Regions from separate parts of the Homo sapiens genome. Here all the other regions are linked to region 1. Evidence: promoter capture Hi-C in human tissues and cell types (Jung and others, 2019). All regions are on one chromosome and are shown on one strand. The core of a region is centred on a gene start or on the middle of the fragment in contact, and the rest is flanking DNA. Distances in the headings are between cores, read along the strand shown.

Region 1 (4,375 bases), core at 976-3,475:
CTCATAACACCTTTTCCCTCCCATTCTCACCCAGAGTTGGGCTGGTCACAGCCTTGTGATGTGTGGAGTATAGGCTGCATCATCTTTGAATACTATGTGGGATTCACCCTCTTCCAGGTAAGTGATGGGATGTCTTACTTGACTGCCTGGCATTCTTCTACCTGGTTCCTTTGTTTTCTGCTGAGGACCTGCCTACTCAGTTCTCCACATTGCCTGCCTTCCTGGCAGCTGATCCTTAGCATGCCCTTTTCAGTCCCATGCTCAGTTCTGTTTTTGTTTCCCAGACCCATGACAACAGAGAGCATCTAGCCATGATGGAAAGGATCTTGGGTCCTATCCCTTCCCGGATGATCCGAAAGACAAGGTGAACCTTGAGGGGGCACTAGTTAACTCTTTTCCTTTTCTCTCCACAGAATTGGTCTATTTCACATCATTTTCTTTTTTCTTTGATACCTCCTCTCCCCCCAGTTACTTTCAGATGGGGAAATAAGGGAATTGTAACAAGGGTGACCTTCTGATTCCTCAACCTCCCCTTCCCCTCTAGAAAGCAGAAATATTTTTACCGGGGTCGCCTGGATTGGGATGAGAACACATCAGCTGGGCGCTATGTTCGTGAGAACTGCAAACCGCTGCGGGTGAGCTGGGCTCGGGATAAATAGTGCCCACCGTCCAGAAGTCACTTCCTTCTTAGGGTGGTTTGCCCCCTGGAATGCTCTTCACAAGCAGAGGGTTAGGAAAGGAGGGGAGGAAAGCTGAAAGAAGACATCTTTGGTCAACAGAGGAAACATAAGAGGGAGTGGTTTTGTGGAGGGAAGGAGGTTAGACAGCCTAACCTTGAGACAACCAGAGATCAAAGCAATGTCCTGGATTCTTTAGGTCAGACAGAAAAGAATAAACTACCTTTGAAGAGCTTACATTTTAATGAGGAACTAAAGAAGATTCATGAAGTTGACAAGGATATACAAGTAGAAAGAACTTTCAAAGATTATGGAGTAATTGTGCTAGTGGGAAGGTAGGTTGAGCTATAATATCAGAAACGTTGGTCCTGGTGTGGTCGTGGTTAGGTAGCCTTCAAATTGGTTGCAAGCAGAGCCTTGGTTCTCCAAGAATGAAAGGTAGGGTCTTGAAGAAGGCAGGGTTTGTAAGGCATCCTGCCTCACCTTTTTCCTGCCCTCCTCCACCAGCGGTATCTGACCTCAGAGGCAGAGGAACACCACCAGCTCTTCGATCTGATTGAAAGCATGCTAGAGTATGAACCAGCTAAGCGGCTGACCTTGGGTGAAGCCCTTCAGCATCCTTTCTTCGCCCGCCTTCGGGCTGAGCCGCCCAACAAGTTGTGGGACTCCAGTCGGGATATCAGTCGGTGACGATCAGGCCCTGGGCCCCCCTGCATCTTTTATAGCAGTGGGTGTCCAGTCCAGGACACTGGTGCTTTTTTATACAAGAGAACGAGCCAGAGTTCACTCCTTCCTCCTGGCTCTCTATATACCTGTGAATATGTGAAATAGTGTAAATATGAAAGAACTTGTACCTATCACTTCAACCCCTGCCTTGTACATAATACTATTCCATCCACACAGTTTCCACCCTCACCTGCCCCCTCATACGGAGTTGGATGGGGGCCGAGTGAGGTAACCAGGTGGCATCTACCCCATGTTTTATAAGGAATTTTGTACAGTCTTTGTGAAATAAAATAACGTGCTTCATTTGACCCCCATCCCTGGAGTTGGAGGTTTGGGAATGCTGGGGTGGAGGGATGAAACTATTGGCAAACTTTCTGAGTTTGGGTATGAAGGGAGTCCTCCTTACCCTCCAAAATGAAGCACAGCCAGGCTACCAGTTTATTTCCCCTGTCCACCTTATCATATGGGAGGGTAGTGATGGGTGGGGCAGCATTTCTTTCAGATTAAAACAGAGAAGTGTTATGAGGTGGCACTTCTCGGATGTGGAATTATGAGAGTTGGGAAAGATCTGACTCCTAGAGTCATTAGGCCGCGGCCCAGTATAGAGCCAGAAACTCAGGTTGAAAACGTGCTCAACCTGGCTCCTAGGGGGGATTGCCACGACCGGTCAGAAGGCTCCCGTCGTCCATCTCGGGAGACTAGGAAGGCCGGATTCCTACGCGAGGCCTGCTGGGAAGTGTAGTTCGTTAGTGGAAGGAAGTCACATGGAAGAGGGGCGGTAGTTGGTTGTGGGCACTGGGTTAGAGGTATCACGTGGGGGCACTTTCGTCTTAGCTTTTGGACAAGACGCAGGCGCAACCCACGGCTGCTGCGGGGATCCTTGTGGCCCTTCCGGTCGGTGGAACCAATCCGTGCACAGAGAAGCGGGGCGAACTGAGGCGAGTGAAGTGGACTCTGAGGGCTACCGCTACCGCCACTGCTGCGGCAGGGGCGTGGAGGGCAGAGGGCCGCGGAGGCCGCAGTTGCAAACATGGCTCAGAGCAGAGACGGCGGAAACCCGTTCGCCGAGCCCAGCGAGCTTGACAACCCCTTTCAGGTGACTTGCGCCAGTCGGCCTCTTTTGGGCGGTCAGGTTGATTCTTCCCGGTTCTGTAGGGTCGGGCTAACTTGTATCCCCATTTGTGACATTTGATCCTGGGAAGAGCCGCCACGTGGGGTGACAGTGACTCCAGACCAGTGAGCACTCTGGGGGGCGGGCCCTGCCCCTTAATGGGCTGGTGCTGGCAGTGTTGGATGATGGATTTGAGGTAAATGTTGTCCCAGTCCTGGGACAACGGCGTGGCCCCGAAGGTGCAGTACTTGGAGCCACAGGCAGTTTGGGAATGGTCCCTGGGAATTCCCCTAGGTGGCACTGGGTGCCAGCTGAGACCCGGGTCTCTGCCCTCAGGACCCAGCTGTGATCCAGCACCGACCCAGCCGGCAGTATGCCACGCTTGACGTCTACAACCCTTTTGAGACCCGGGAGGTGAGCTACTGGAGAGCATAGGAGTTCAAGGAAGGGAAGGGTTTGCCAGTGAGACAAGTTAGCTTGGGTACAGGGGACTTTTCTGCATGCACAGGAAGGAAGAGGCACTGTGATCTTAGTTCCCTGAGAGAGGCTAGTCAGCCATGGGATGCCTCATCCTTCTAGGGCCACCAGGGCCACCAACCCAAATGGTTTGAGCTCTAAAAGTCAGTCCTGGGAAGATCTGGAGGCTGGCAAGGCCTTAACCAATGTTCTGTATGGGAAGGCTTTCTTGAAGAAAATAAAGGTTGGGGCTGGTTGGAGTTTAGGTTAGGTGTGCAGTTTGAAAGCAAGGAATGAGGAGGACTACACCTGTTTGTCCCACTGGATTAGAAGATGGTGAGTTGTAAGAATTTAAGGGGTTTTCATGGTACTTAAAACTTAAAAAAAAAAGCCAAGCATGGTGTGCATGCCTGTAATCCCACTTGGGAGGCTGAGGTGGGAGGATTGCTTGAGCCCAGGAATTTGATGGAGACCATCCTGGGCAACAGCGAGACCCCCATCTCTTGAAACGTTTTAAAAATTGGCTAGGTGTAGTGGCACATGCCTGTAGTCCTTGCTACTTGGGAGGCTGGGATGGAAAGACTGCTTGGGCCCAGGAGTTTGAGGCTTCGATGAGTGATGATTGCACCACTGCACTCCAGCCTGGGTGGCAGAGAGACAACCCCACACTCCATCCCCAGAAGAAAAGAAAAAAAAAAAACACAGTTAAGTGGGGAGATATGGTAAATGAGTGATTTGAGTCCTCACTAAGGAATTGGATATGAGGGATGATAAGGCTGCTACAGGTCATCATAGAGTTCTCTGACAGAAATTCAACAGAAGAACTAGCTTCCTAACAAATGGGGGAAAGGCTGCTTCCTTACATCATGAGTTCTGGGTCTAAAGGTATTCAAGCAGACTCTAGATTCCTGTGTTATGAGGGACTAGATGATCACTAAGGTCTTTTCCTCAACAGCCACCACCAGCCTATGAGCCTCCAGCCCCTGCCCCATTGCCTCCACCCTCAGCTCCCTCCTTGCAGCCCTCGAGAAAGCTCAGCCCCACAGAACCTAAGAACTATGGCTCATACAGCACTCAGGTACAGGAGGTGTGCAGGTGAGGGCTGGGGAGAAGGGCCAGTCCTGGGGCCCAGGGCTCACATCTCCGTCTGCTCACACTGGGCAGGCCTCAGCTGCAGCAGCCACAGCTGAGCTGCTGAAGAAACAGGAGGAGCTCAACCGGAAGGCAGAGGAGTTGGACCGAAGGGAGCGAGAGCTGCAGCATGCTGCCCTGGGGGGCACAGCTAGTAAGTAATAGAGTGGGGAAGAGCATCTGAGAGTTTGGGAGGAGCAAAAACAGGTCTTAAGGGCCTGGGCTCGGCTGGGTGCGGTGGCTCACACCTATAATCCCAGCACTTTGGGAGGCT
Region 2 (4,375 bases), core at 541-3,040, 170 kb before region 1:
AGTTTACATCCTCACCAACACTTGCTATTTTCAATTTTTTTTTTATAGCAGCCATCCAAATGAGTATGAGATGGGTATCTCATTGTAGTTTTAATTTGCTGTTCCCTAATGATTAGTGACAAACATATTTTCATACGCTTATTGGCCATTTATGTATCTTTAGAGAAGTGTCTACTCAATCGCTTTTTCAATTTTTTGATTGGGCTATTTGGTTTGTTGTTGAGTTTTAGCAGTTCTCAATATATTCTGGATATTATTCTCTTAACCGGCATATAAGCAAATCTTTTCTCCTATTCTGTGGATTGCATTTTTACTTTGTTTATGCTGTCTTTTGACGTACAAAATTTTCTGATATCTATGAAGTCCAATTGTCTGTTTTATCTATAAAGCTATGGTAATCAAAACCGTATGGTAGTAGCATAAAGAGAGACATATAGACCAGCGAAGTAGAATAGAGAGCCCAGAAATAAAACCTTGCATGCATGGTCAGATGATTTTTGACAAAGGTGCCAAAACCATTCAGCAGGGTAAAAGACAGTCTTTTTGACAAATCATGCTGGGAAAACTGGGTATCTGCATGCAAAAGAATGAAGTTGTAGTCTTACTTTAAACCATATACAAAATCTAACTCAAAATGGATCAAAGATGTAAATGTAAAATCTAAAACCAGAAACTCTTGGCCAGGCGTGGTGGCTCACGCCTGTAATTCTAGCAGTTTGGGAGGCCAAGGTGGGCGGATCACGAGGTCAGGAGTTCAAGACCAGCCTAACCAACATAGTGAAACCCCGTCTCTACTAAAAATAGAAAAATTAGCCAGGCGTGGTGGTGTGTGCCTGTAATCCCAGCTACTTGGGAGGCTGAGGCAGGAGAATTGCTTGAACCCAGGAGGCGGAGGTTGTGATGAGCCGAGATTGCGCCACTGCACTCCAGCCTGGGTGACAAAGCGAGACTCCTTCTCAAAAAAAAAAAAAAAAAAAAAAAGTCCACGCATGGTGGCTCACGCCTGTAATCCCAGCACTTTGGGAGGCTGAGGCAGCTGGATCACCTGAGGGTCAGGAGTTCGAGACCGGCCTGATCAACATGGAGAAACCCCGTCTCTACTAAAAATACAAAATTAGCTGGGCATGGTGGCACATGCCTGTAATCCCGGCTACTCAGGAGGCTGAGGCAGGAGAATCCCTTGAACACGGGAGGTGGAGAGGTTGCAGTGAGCCGAGATTGCACCATCACACTCCAGCCTGGGCAACAAGAGCGAAACTTTGTCTCAAAATAAATAAATAAATAAATAAAAATAAAACTGTAAACTCTTAGGAGAAAATATAGGGCAAAAGCTTCACAGCATTGAATTTGGCCGTGATTTCTTAGATGTAATAACAAAGCCACAGGCAATAAACCATTCTTATTTTTATTTATTTATTTTTTGAGATGGAGTTTCACTCTGTCACCCAGCCTGGAGTGCAATGGCACGATCTCCACTCACTGCACCCTCCACCTCGTGGTTTCAAGTGATTCTCCTGCTTCAGCCTCTTGAGCAGCTGTGATTACAGGTGCGCACCACCATGCCTGGCTAATTTTTGTATTTTTAGTAGAGACGAGGTTTCACCATGTTGGCCATGCTAGCCTCGAACTCCTGACCTCAGGTGATCCACCCGTCTCAGCCTCCCAAAGTGCTGGGATTACAGGCGTGAGCCACCACGCCTGGCCCATATTTAATATTTTTTAATGAACCAATTTAATGTTCATCATTTATAAATGGCTTTTCTTAATGTGGCATGTTCACTCTTACTCATATTCTCTATCATCTCTCCTGGTGAATCCTGTATAGAGAGGGTTTTTTTTTTTTTCCATCCACCTATATAAAAATAATTGCTTTTTTCTAGAGAATATATTTTTTAATTTCAGGAGCAATACACGCTGGTAATAAATAATTTAATTAAACTAGTAGTTTACTGATTTAAAAGTAAAAGTCTCTTTTCACATGCTCTCACTTGCTCTTATCCCATTCTTCTCTCCATGGATAACGCTATTAACAGTACATTGTGTATTCTTTAATGCTGAGAGCTTGTCATCAGAACATACAGAATTACCTTATACTGTGGTAGGAATATATCATAATTTATGTAATTACACTGTTGTGATTGACTAGATCTTGCTTTTTTATATTTAGCTCTTTATGTCACTTATGTAATACTGAATATTAGCTATGAGTTAGAGGTTTAATTTTCTTTCAGTACTATTGATTAGTTTAGCCATTCCCAACTTATTTGGAATGATACATTTATCATACACTAAGTTTTTGTTGTTGCTGTTGTTGTTATTGTTTTTGAGACCGAGTCACCCAGGCTGGAATGCAGTGGCGCAATCTTGGCTCACTGCAACCTCTGTCTCCTGGGTTCAAGTGATTCTCATGCCTCAGCCACCCAAGTAGCTGGGATTACAAGCATGCGCCACCATGCCCAGCTAATTTTTGTATTTTTAGTAGAGACGGGGTTTCCCCATGTTGGCCAGGCTGGTCTTGAACTCCTGACCTCAAGTGATCCGCCTGCCTTGGCCTCCCAAAGTACTGTGATTACAGGCATGACTCACCACACCCAGCACTAAATTCTTTTTTTCTTTTTTTTTGAGACGGAGTCTCGCTCTGTCGCCCAGGCTGGTATACAGTGGCACAATCTCGGCTCACTGCAACCTCTGCCTCCCAGGTTCAAGTGATTCTCCTCCTGAGTAGCTGGGATTACAGGCGCACACCACCACACCACCATGCCTGGCTAATTTTTTTGTATTTTTAGTAGAGACGGGTTTTTACCATATTGGTCAGGCTGGTCTCAAACTCCTGACCTGATGATCCTCCCGCCTCGGCCTCCCGAAGTGCTGGGATTACAGGTGTGAGCTACGGCGCCCCACCATCCTAAATTCTTATATACTGTTAGATCTTAGGGTCTTTTCAATTTTTTTTTTTTTTTTTTTTTTTTACTGTGTCCCAGGCTTAAGAAAAAAGTGATACATGATGTGGGATTAAAATCAAGAACATCATTGAACTTCACCTTCCCTCCAACCAGTTGCCCCAAACTCCCCTGCCCCCACCCTTTGTGTTCCCAATTCCTTCCTTAGTGAATGAAGAACTTAATTCCAAAAGCCCTGGCACAAACTCCAGGTTCTCTTTCCCTAGCTCCTCCCCTCCCCCTGTCCCCCATTCCTAGAAGGGCAGGCACCTCAGTTTGAATGCATGGGAGAGCCCAGGGTGGTGACGGAGACGGGGGAAAGGCTTCCCCCTCAGGGAAAGGGACCGAGGAGTACAGTGCAGTGAAGTGAGGGCTCCCATAGCCTGGGGTACCAAAATGGGGCCCTGGGGCCAGAGGAAAGGATACTGGTACCCCTGAGAAAGGAGACCCAGCAGCCTCAAAATCCTCTCGTTATGCATAGTCGCTGCTTGATTGCTTGCCTTTCTGGCACCGGTTACAGAACCACACTCGGACCACATCCTTCTCGAGCCCAAGCTGCTGGGCGATGTGGCTGATCTGCTGCAGTGTGGGTTTCGGGCACTGCAGGAACAAATTCTCCAGGTTGCCTCTCACTCGGTTCTCGATACTGGTTCGCTTTCTCTTTCGAGCCTGCAAGAGGGTTTCTGCTTTGCATGTCTCCTGAAGATTTTCATTGTTGTCAGCTTCCTCCACCCACTTCTGCAGCAAGGGCCGCAGCTTACACATGTTCTTGAAGCTAAGCTGCAGACCCTCAAAGCGGCAGATGGTCGTTTGGCTGAACACCTTCCCAAATAGAACCCCCAGGGTGAGCCCCACATCGGCCTGTGTATATCCCAGGGTGATCCTCTTCTGCTTCAGGAGCTTGGCAAATTGTTCGAGTTCTTTCTGCAGAGCTTTGATGTTCTGGGACTCCTGCGGGTTTTGCTCCAGCTTCTCCTTCTCCAGTTTCACGGCACCAGGGGGGACGGTGCAGGGCTCCAGGGAGGTGCCATCGGAGTTGCTCTCCACCCTGACTCCTGCTTCGCCCTCAGGCTGAGAGGTCTCCAAGCCGCCTTGGGGCACTAGCCGCACTCCAACCTGAGGCCCACAGTACGCCATCCCCCCACAGAACTCATACAGCGGGGGGCATGGGGGAATCCCCCACACCTCAGAGCCTGACCCAACTCCCGGCCCGATTCCTGGCCCTCCAGGAGGGCCTTGGAAGCTTAGCCAGGTCCGAGGATCAACCCAGCCCGGCTCCGGCCCCCCTGGCCCATCACCTCCACCGCCTGGAGGGGGCAAGAAGGCAGGCATCCGAAGCCAGGTGTCCCGCCATGGGGAAGGAAGGCGCCCCAAGCTGGGGGCCTGGTGAAATGTCAAATATTTTTATATTCCTTTCTATCAGTCTATTTTGGTAT
Region 3 (4,375 bases), core at 1,125-3,624, 140 kb before region 1:
GGAATCTTCACAGACTCTAGATCAATTTGGGAAGTTTTGTCATCTTTTTTTTTTTTTTTTTTTTTGAGACAGAGTCTCACTCTGTCGCCCAGGCTGGAGTGCAGTGGCACCATCTTAGCTCACTGCAACCTTCGCCCCCTGGGTTTAAGCAATTCTCTTCTGTCAGCCTCCCTAGTAGTTTGGATTACAGGCATGTGCTACCATGCCCATCTACTTTTTGTATTTTTAGTAGATCCAGGGTTTTGCCATGTTGGCCAGGCTGGTCTCGAACTCCGGACCTCAAGTGATCCATCCGCCTCGGCCTCCCAAACCGCTGGGATTACAGACGTGAGCTACAGCACCTGGCCAAGTTTTGCTGTCTTAACAGTATTTGGTCATCACCATATCTGTGAATATGGGATGTCTTTCCATTTATTTTGACTTTTTTTTTTTTTTTTTTGACACAGAGAATCGCTCTCTCACCCAGACTGGAGTGCAGTGGCCTGATCTTGGCTCACTGCAACCTCCACCTCCCAGGTTCAGGTGATTCTCCTGCCTCAGCCTCCCAAACAGATGGGGCTACAGGCCCACACCACCATGCCCGGCTAATTTTTTGTAGTTTTGTAGAGACAGGGTTTCATCATGTTGGTCAAGCTGATCTTGAACTCCTGACCTCAGGTGATTCACTCACCTAGGCCTCCCAAATTGCTAAGATTACAGGGATGAGTGACCATGCCCGACCTATTTTGATCTTTAACCAAAACTTTTAACAGTGTTTGTTGTTGTTGTTTTGTTTGTTTGTTTTAATGAGACTGAGTCTCACTCTGTCGCCTAGGCTTGAGGGCAGCGGCTTCATCTCGGCTCACTGCAACTTCCCCCTCTTGGGTTCAAGTGATTCTCGTGCCTCAGCCTCCTGATTAGCTAGGAATATGGGTGCATGCCAACACACCTGGCTAATTTTTATATTTTTGTAGAGACAGGGTTTCACCATGTTGGCCAGGCTGGTCTCGAACTCCTGACCTCAAGTGATCTGCCCCCCCCTCAGCCCCCTAAAGTGCTGGGATTACAGGCACGAGTCACTGCCCCTGGCCTCAAAACTTTTAACAGTGTTTTATAGTTTTTAGTGTACAGGTGCTATTCTTCTTTTGTTAATCTTGTTCCCAAGAATTTTTTTTTAATTTACTGCTATTGTAATTGTTGTAATTGGAATTGGATTTTTTATTTTTATTTTTTTATTTTTATTCTATTATTATTATTTTTTTTTAGATGGAGTCTCACTCTGTCACCAGGCTGGCGTGCAGTGGTGCGGTCTCAGCTTACTGCAACCTCTGTTTCCCAGGTTCAAGCGATTCTCCTGCCTCAGCCTCCCGAGTAGCTGGGACCACAGGCACGCACCACCACACTCAGCTGATTTTTGTGTTTTTAGTAGAGAAAGAGTTTCACCGTGTTGGCCAGGACGGTCTCGATCTCTTGACCTCGTGATCCGCCTGCCTCAGCCTCCCAAAGTGCTGGGATGACAGGCATGCCACCACGCCCAGCCCTCCAATTGGATATTTTAAATTAAATTTTTGGATTGTTTATTGCTATGTATAGAAATACAATTGATTTTTTTTTCCCACCAGTTTACCCTGACAGATGTGTTTCATGTATTGAGTTTGTCTCCTGTAACCTAGGTGTTAGTCCTAAGAGTCTTTTAGTGGATTCCGTCATGTGTGTCTTGACTTTGCTTAAGATCATTCACATCGTCACCACATCTAGCTAATTTTTTTATTTTTTGTAGAGACAATGAGGTCTTGCCATGTTGCCTGAGCTGGTCTTGAGCTCCTGGCCTCAAGTGATCCTCCTGCCTTGTCCTTCCAAAGTGTTGGGATTACAGGGGTTAGCCACTATATCTGGCCTTTATTTTTAAATTGCTTCTGGATTTTTTTCTTTTTTAAAGACAGAGTCTACCTCTCATCCAGACTAGAGTACAGTGGCATAATACCAGCTCACTACAGTCTCCACCTCCTAGACTCAAGCGTTCATCTTACCTCAGCCTCCTCCAGTAGCTGGGACTACAGGTACATGCCACCACACTGGACTAATTTTTTTATTTTTTCAGAGACAGGGTCTCTCTATGTTGCCCAGGCTGGTCTTGAACTCTTGAGTCAAGTCCCTCTTTGGCCTCCCAAAGTGCTAGGATTGTAGGTGTGAGCCACCGTGCCCAGGTTGCTTCCTTTTTTTTTTTTTTTTTGAGACGGAGTTTCGTTCTTGTTGCCCAGGCTGGAGTGCAATGGTGCGTTCTTGGCTCACTGCAACCTCTGCCTTCCAGGTTCAAGCGATTCTCCTGCCTCAGCCTCCCGAGTAGCTGGGATTACAGGCATGGCATCACCATACCTGGCTATTTTTTTTTTTTTTTAATGGTAGGAACGGCCTTTATTGGCTGCAGCAGGAAGTGAAAGAGGGGATACAGCTTCTGCAGAATAGATCGCCGCCCTCCAAAAAAAGCTTCTGTATTTCAAGTCATTAGAAAAGCTCTCCCACACACAAATTTTAAGCAAGTAAGAAATTTACTTTTGTTTTCTTCTGGTAATTGCTTGGATTCAATTTTTGCATCTAGTTCCCTAATATATTTGGAATTTTTTCAGGTATATTAGTCTGGGCTAATACTGAAGAAGTAAAAAGAAAGTTAATACTTCTTGCATACCTATTATGTGCCAGTTACTGTGCTAATGAGTTTATATATGTTATCTTATAAATTTATTCAAGAACCTTGTGAGAGAACAGGTATTATTAATATTATTGAAGAAGCTAAGGCTTAGAGAATTAGAGAAACTTAAGTAATTTGTCTAGAGTTTTACAGTTAGTCAATAGCATAGTTAACATTTGAGTTCTGGCAATAATTGGCTGCAGAGTTGTTTGTACTTTTCCCTACTTTACTTAGCTTCTACAGTACTGACATATCTTTTGTGGGTTTTTTTGGTTTTTTTTGAAACAGGAGTTTCACTCCATTGCCTAGGCTGGTCTGAAACTCCTGGGATCCTTCCACAATGATCCTTCAGCTGCAACCTCCAAAAGGCTGGGATTAGAGGCATTTGCACCACCACCAGCTCTTTTTTTTTTTTGAGATGGAGTTTCGCTCTTGTCACCCAGACTGGAGTGCAATGGCACGATCTTGGCTCACTGTAACCTCTGCCTCCCAGGTTCAAGCGATTCTCCTGTCTCAGCCTCCCAAGTAGCTGGGATTACAGGCGTGCGCTACCACACCTGGCTAATTTGTGTATTTTTTTTTTTTTAGTAGAGACGGGTTTCACCATGTTGGCCAGGCTGGTCTTGAACTCCTGACCTTAGGTGATCCACCCACCTCAGCTTCCCAAAGTGCTGGGATTACAGGCAACCATACCCGGCCTTCAATGTCTTTTTATGCTGAAAAAAAAAAAAAAAAAAAGTATAACTTGGCTGGGTGTGGTGGCTCATACTTGTAATCCCAGTACTTCGGGAGGCCAAGGTAGGAGGATTGCTTGAGGCCAGGAGTTTGAGACCAGCCTAGACATCATGGTGAGGACCCCATCTCTACAAAAAGTTTTTAAATAATTATCCAGGCATAGTGGCACACAGACCTGTAGTCCTAGTTACTCAGTAGACTGGGATGGTGGGATTGCTTGAGCCTTAGGAGTTCAAGGCTGCATTGAATTATGATTGCACCACTGTACAACCTGGGTGGCAGAACAAGGCCCTGTCTTTAAAAACAAAACAAAGCAGTAAAACATGGATAACTTGTCTGGACCATTTGATTAATTCCTTTTTTTTATTTAAAAGATTAGCTCTAGAATAACATGTCCATTTTTTACATTCTGTACTTTTTAGCATAAAGTTTATATAGTAATCTGAAATATAATTTTACCTTTTTATCTAAAAGTGCCGTATTCCTTGAGGATTTTAAGTTGTGCAGTAAAATGGTCTGGATTGGAGCAAGGTTAGGGAAAGGTGACATTATGAAAAAATGATGCCTCCCCCTTCTTCAAATTCATATCCCCAGGGCAAAAGTTGCCATATTGTTTATGAAAGAACATTAAGGGAGTCTGTTTTCCTGTTGTCTGTAGATGATGTTCAGAAGTATTTTAACCCTGATATGATGTTTGTTTGTTTGTTTGTTTGTTTGTTTGAGACGGAGTCTGGCAGTGGCACAATCACCATGCCCAGCTAGTATGATTTTTTTTTTTTAGACAGTCTTGCTCTGTCACCCAGGCTGGTGTGCAGTGGTGCAACCTTGGCTCACTGCAACCTCCACCTCCTGGGTTCAAGCAGTTTTCCTGCTTCAGCCTCTCAAGTAGCTGAGATAACAGGCGCCTGCCACCACGCCCAGCTAATTTTTTGTATCTTTAGTAGAGGCGGGGTTTCACCATGTTGGCCAGGC

What was found. The method cuts DNA at HindIII sites, captures the fragments that hold promoters and counts their contacts. A contact is called where the count stands out against the background at its distance.
Region 2: a fragment that was not itself captured here is called in contact with the fragment with the promoter of SCAMP3 in region 1 in 2 of the 25 tissues and cell types used here (IMR-90 fibroblasts and adrenal gland).
Region 3: a fragment that was not itself captured here is called in contact with the fragment with the promoter of SCAMP3 in region 1 in 1 of the 25 tissues and cell types used here (heart right ventricle).

The regions. Positions count from the first base shown.
Region 1 is chr1:155,260,210-155,264,584 of GRCh38, reverse strand. SCAMP3 (secretory carrier membrane protein 3) reads left to right here and starts at 2,225. Exons shown (of 9, transcript NM_005698.4): 1 at 2,225-2,499; 2 at 2,851-2,928; 3 at 3,926-4,048; 4 at 4,135-4,255. The coding sequence starts at 2,434. It overlaps CLK2 (CDC like kinase 2), which reads left to right. Exons shown (of 13, transcript NM_001294338.2): 10 at 35-117; 11 at 285-364; 12 at 545-635; 13 at 1,185-1,717. The coding sequence ends at 1,367. The HindIII fragment of the contact is 10,284 bases long and covers 1-4,375 here.
Region 2 is chr1:155,433,098-155,437,472 of GRCh38, reverse strand. The region is part of intron 5 of ASH1L (ASH1 like histone lysine methyltransferase); the gene reads left to right. It also overlaps the pseudogene POU5F1P4. Among named protein-coding and RNA genes, the nearest start is that of MIR555, 89 kb to the right of the region's middle. The HindIII fragment of the contact is 6,117 bases long and covers 1-4,375 here.
Region 3 is chr1:155,401,894-155,406,268 of GRCh38, reverse strand. All of the region lies in intron 6 of ASH1L (ASH1 like histone lysine methyltransferase), which reads left to right. Among named protein-coding and RNA genes, the nearest start is that of MIR555, 58 kb to the right of the region's middle. The HindIII fragment of the contact is 7,949 bases long and covers 1-4,375 here.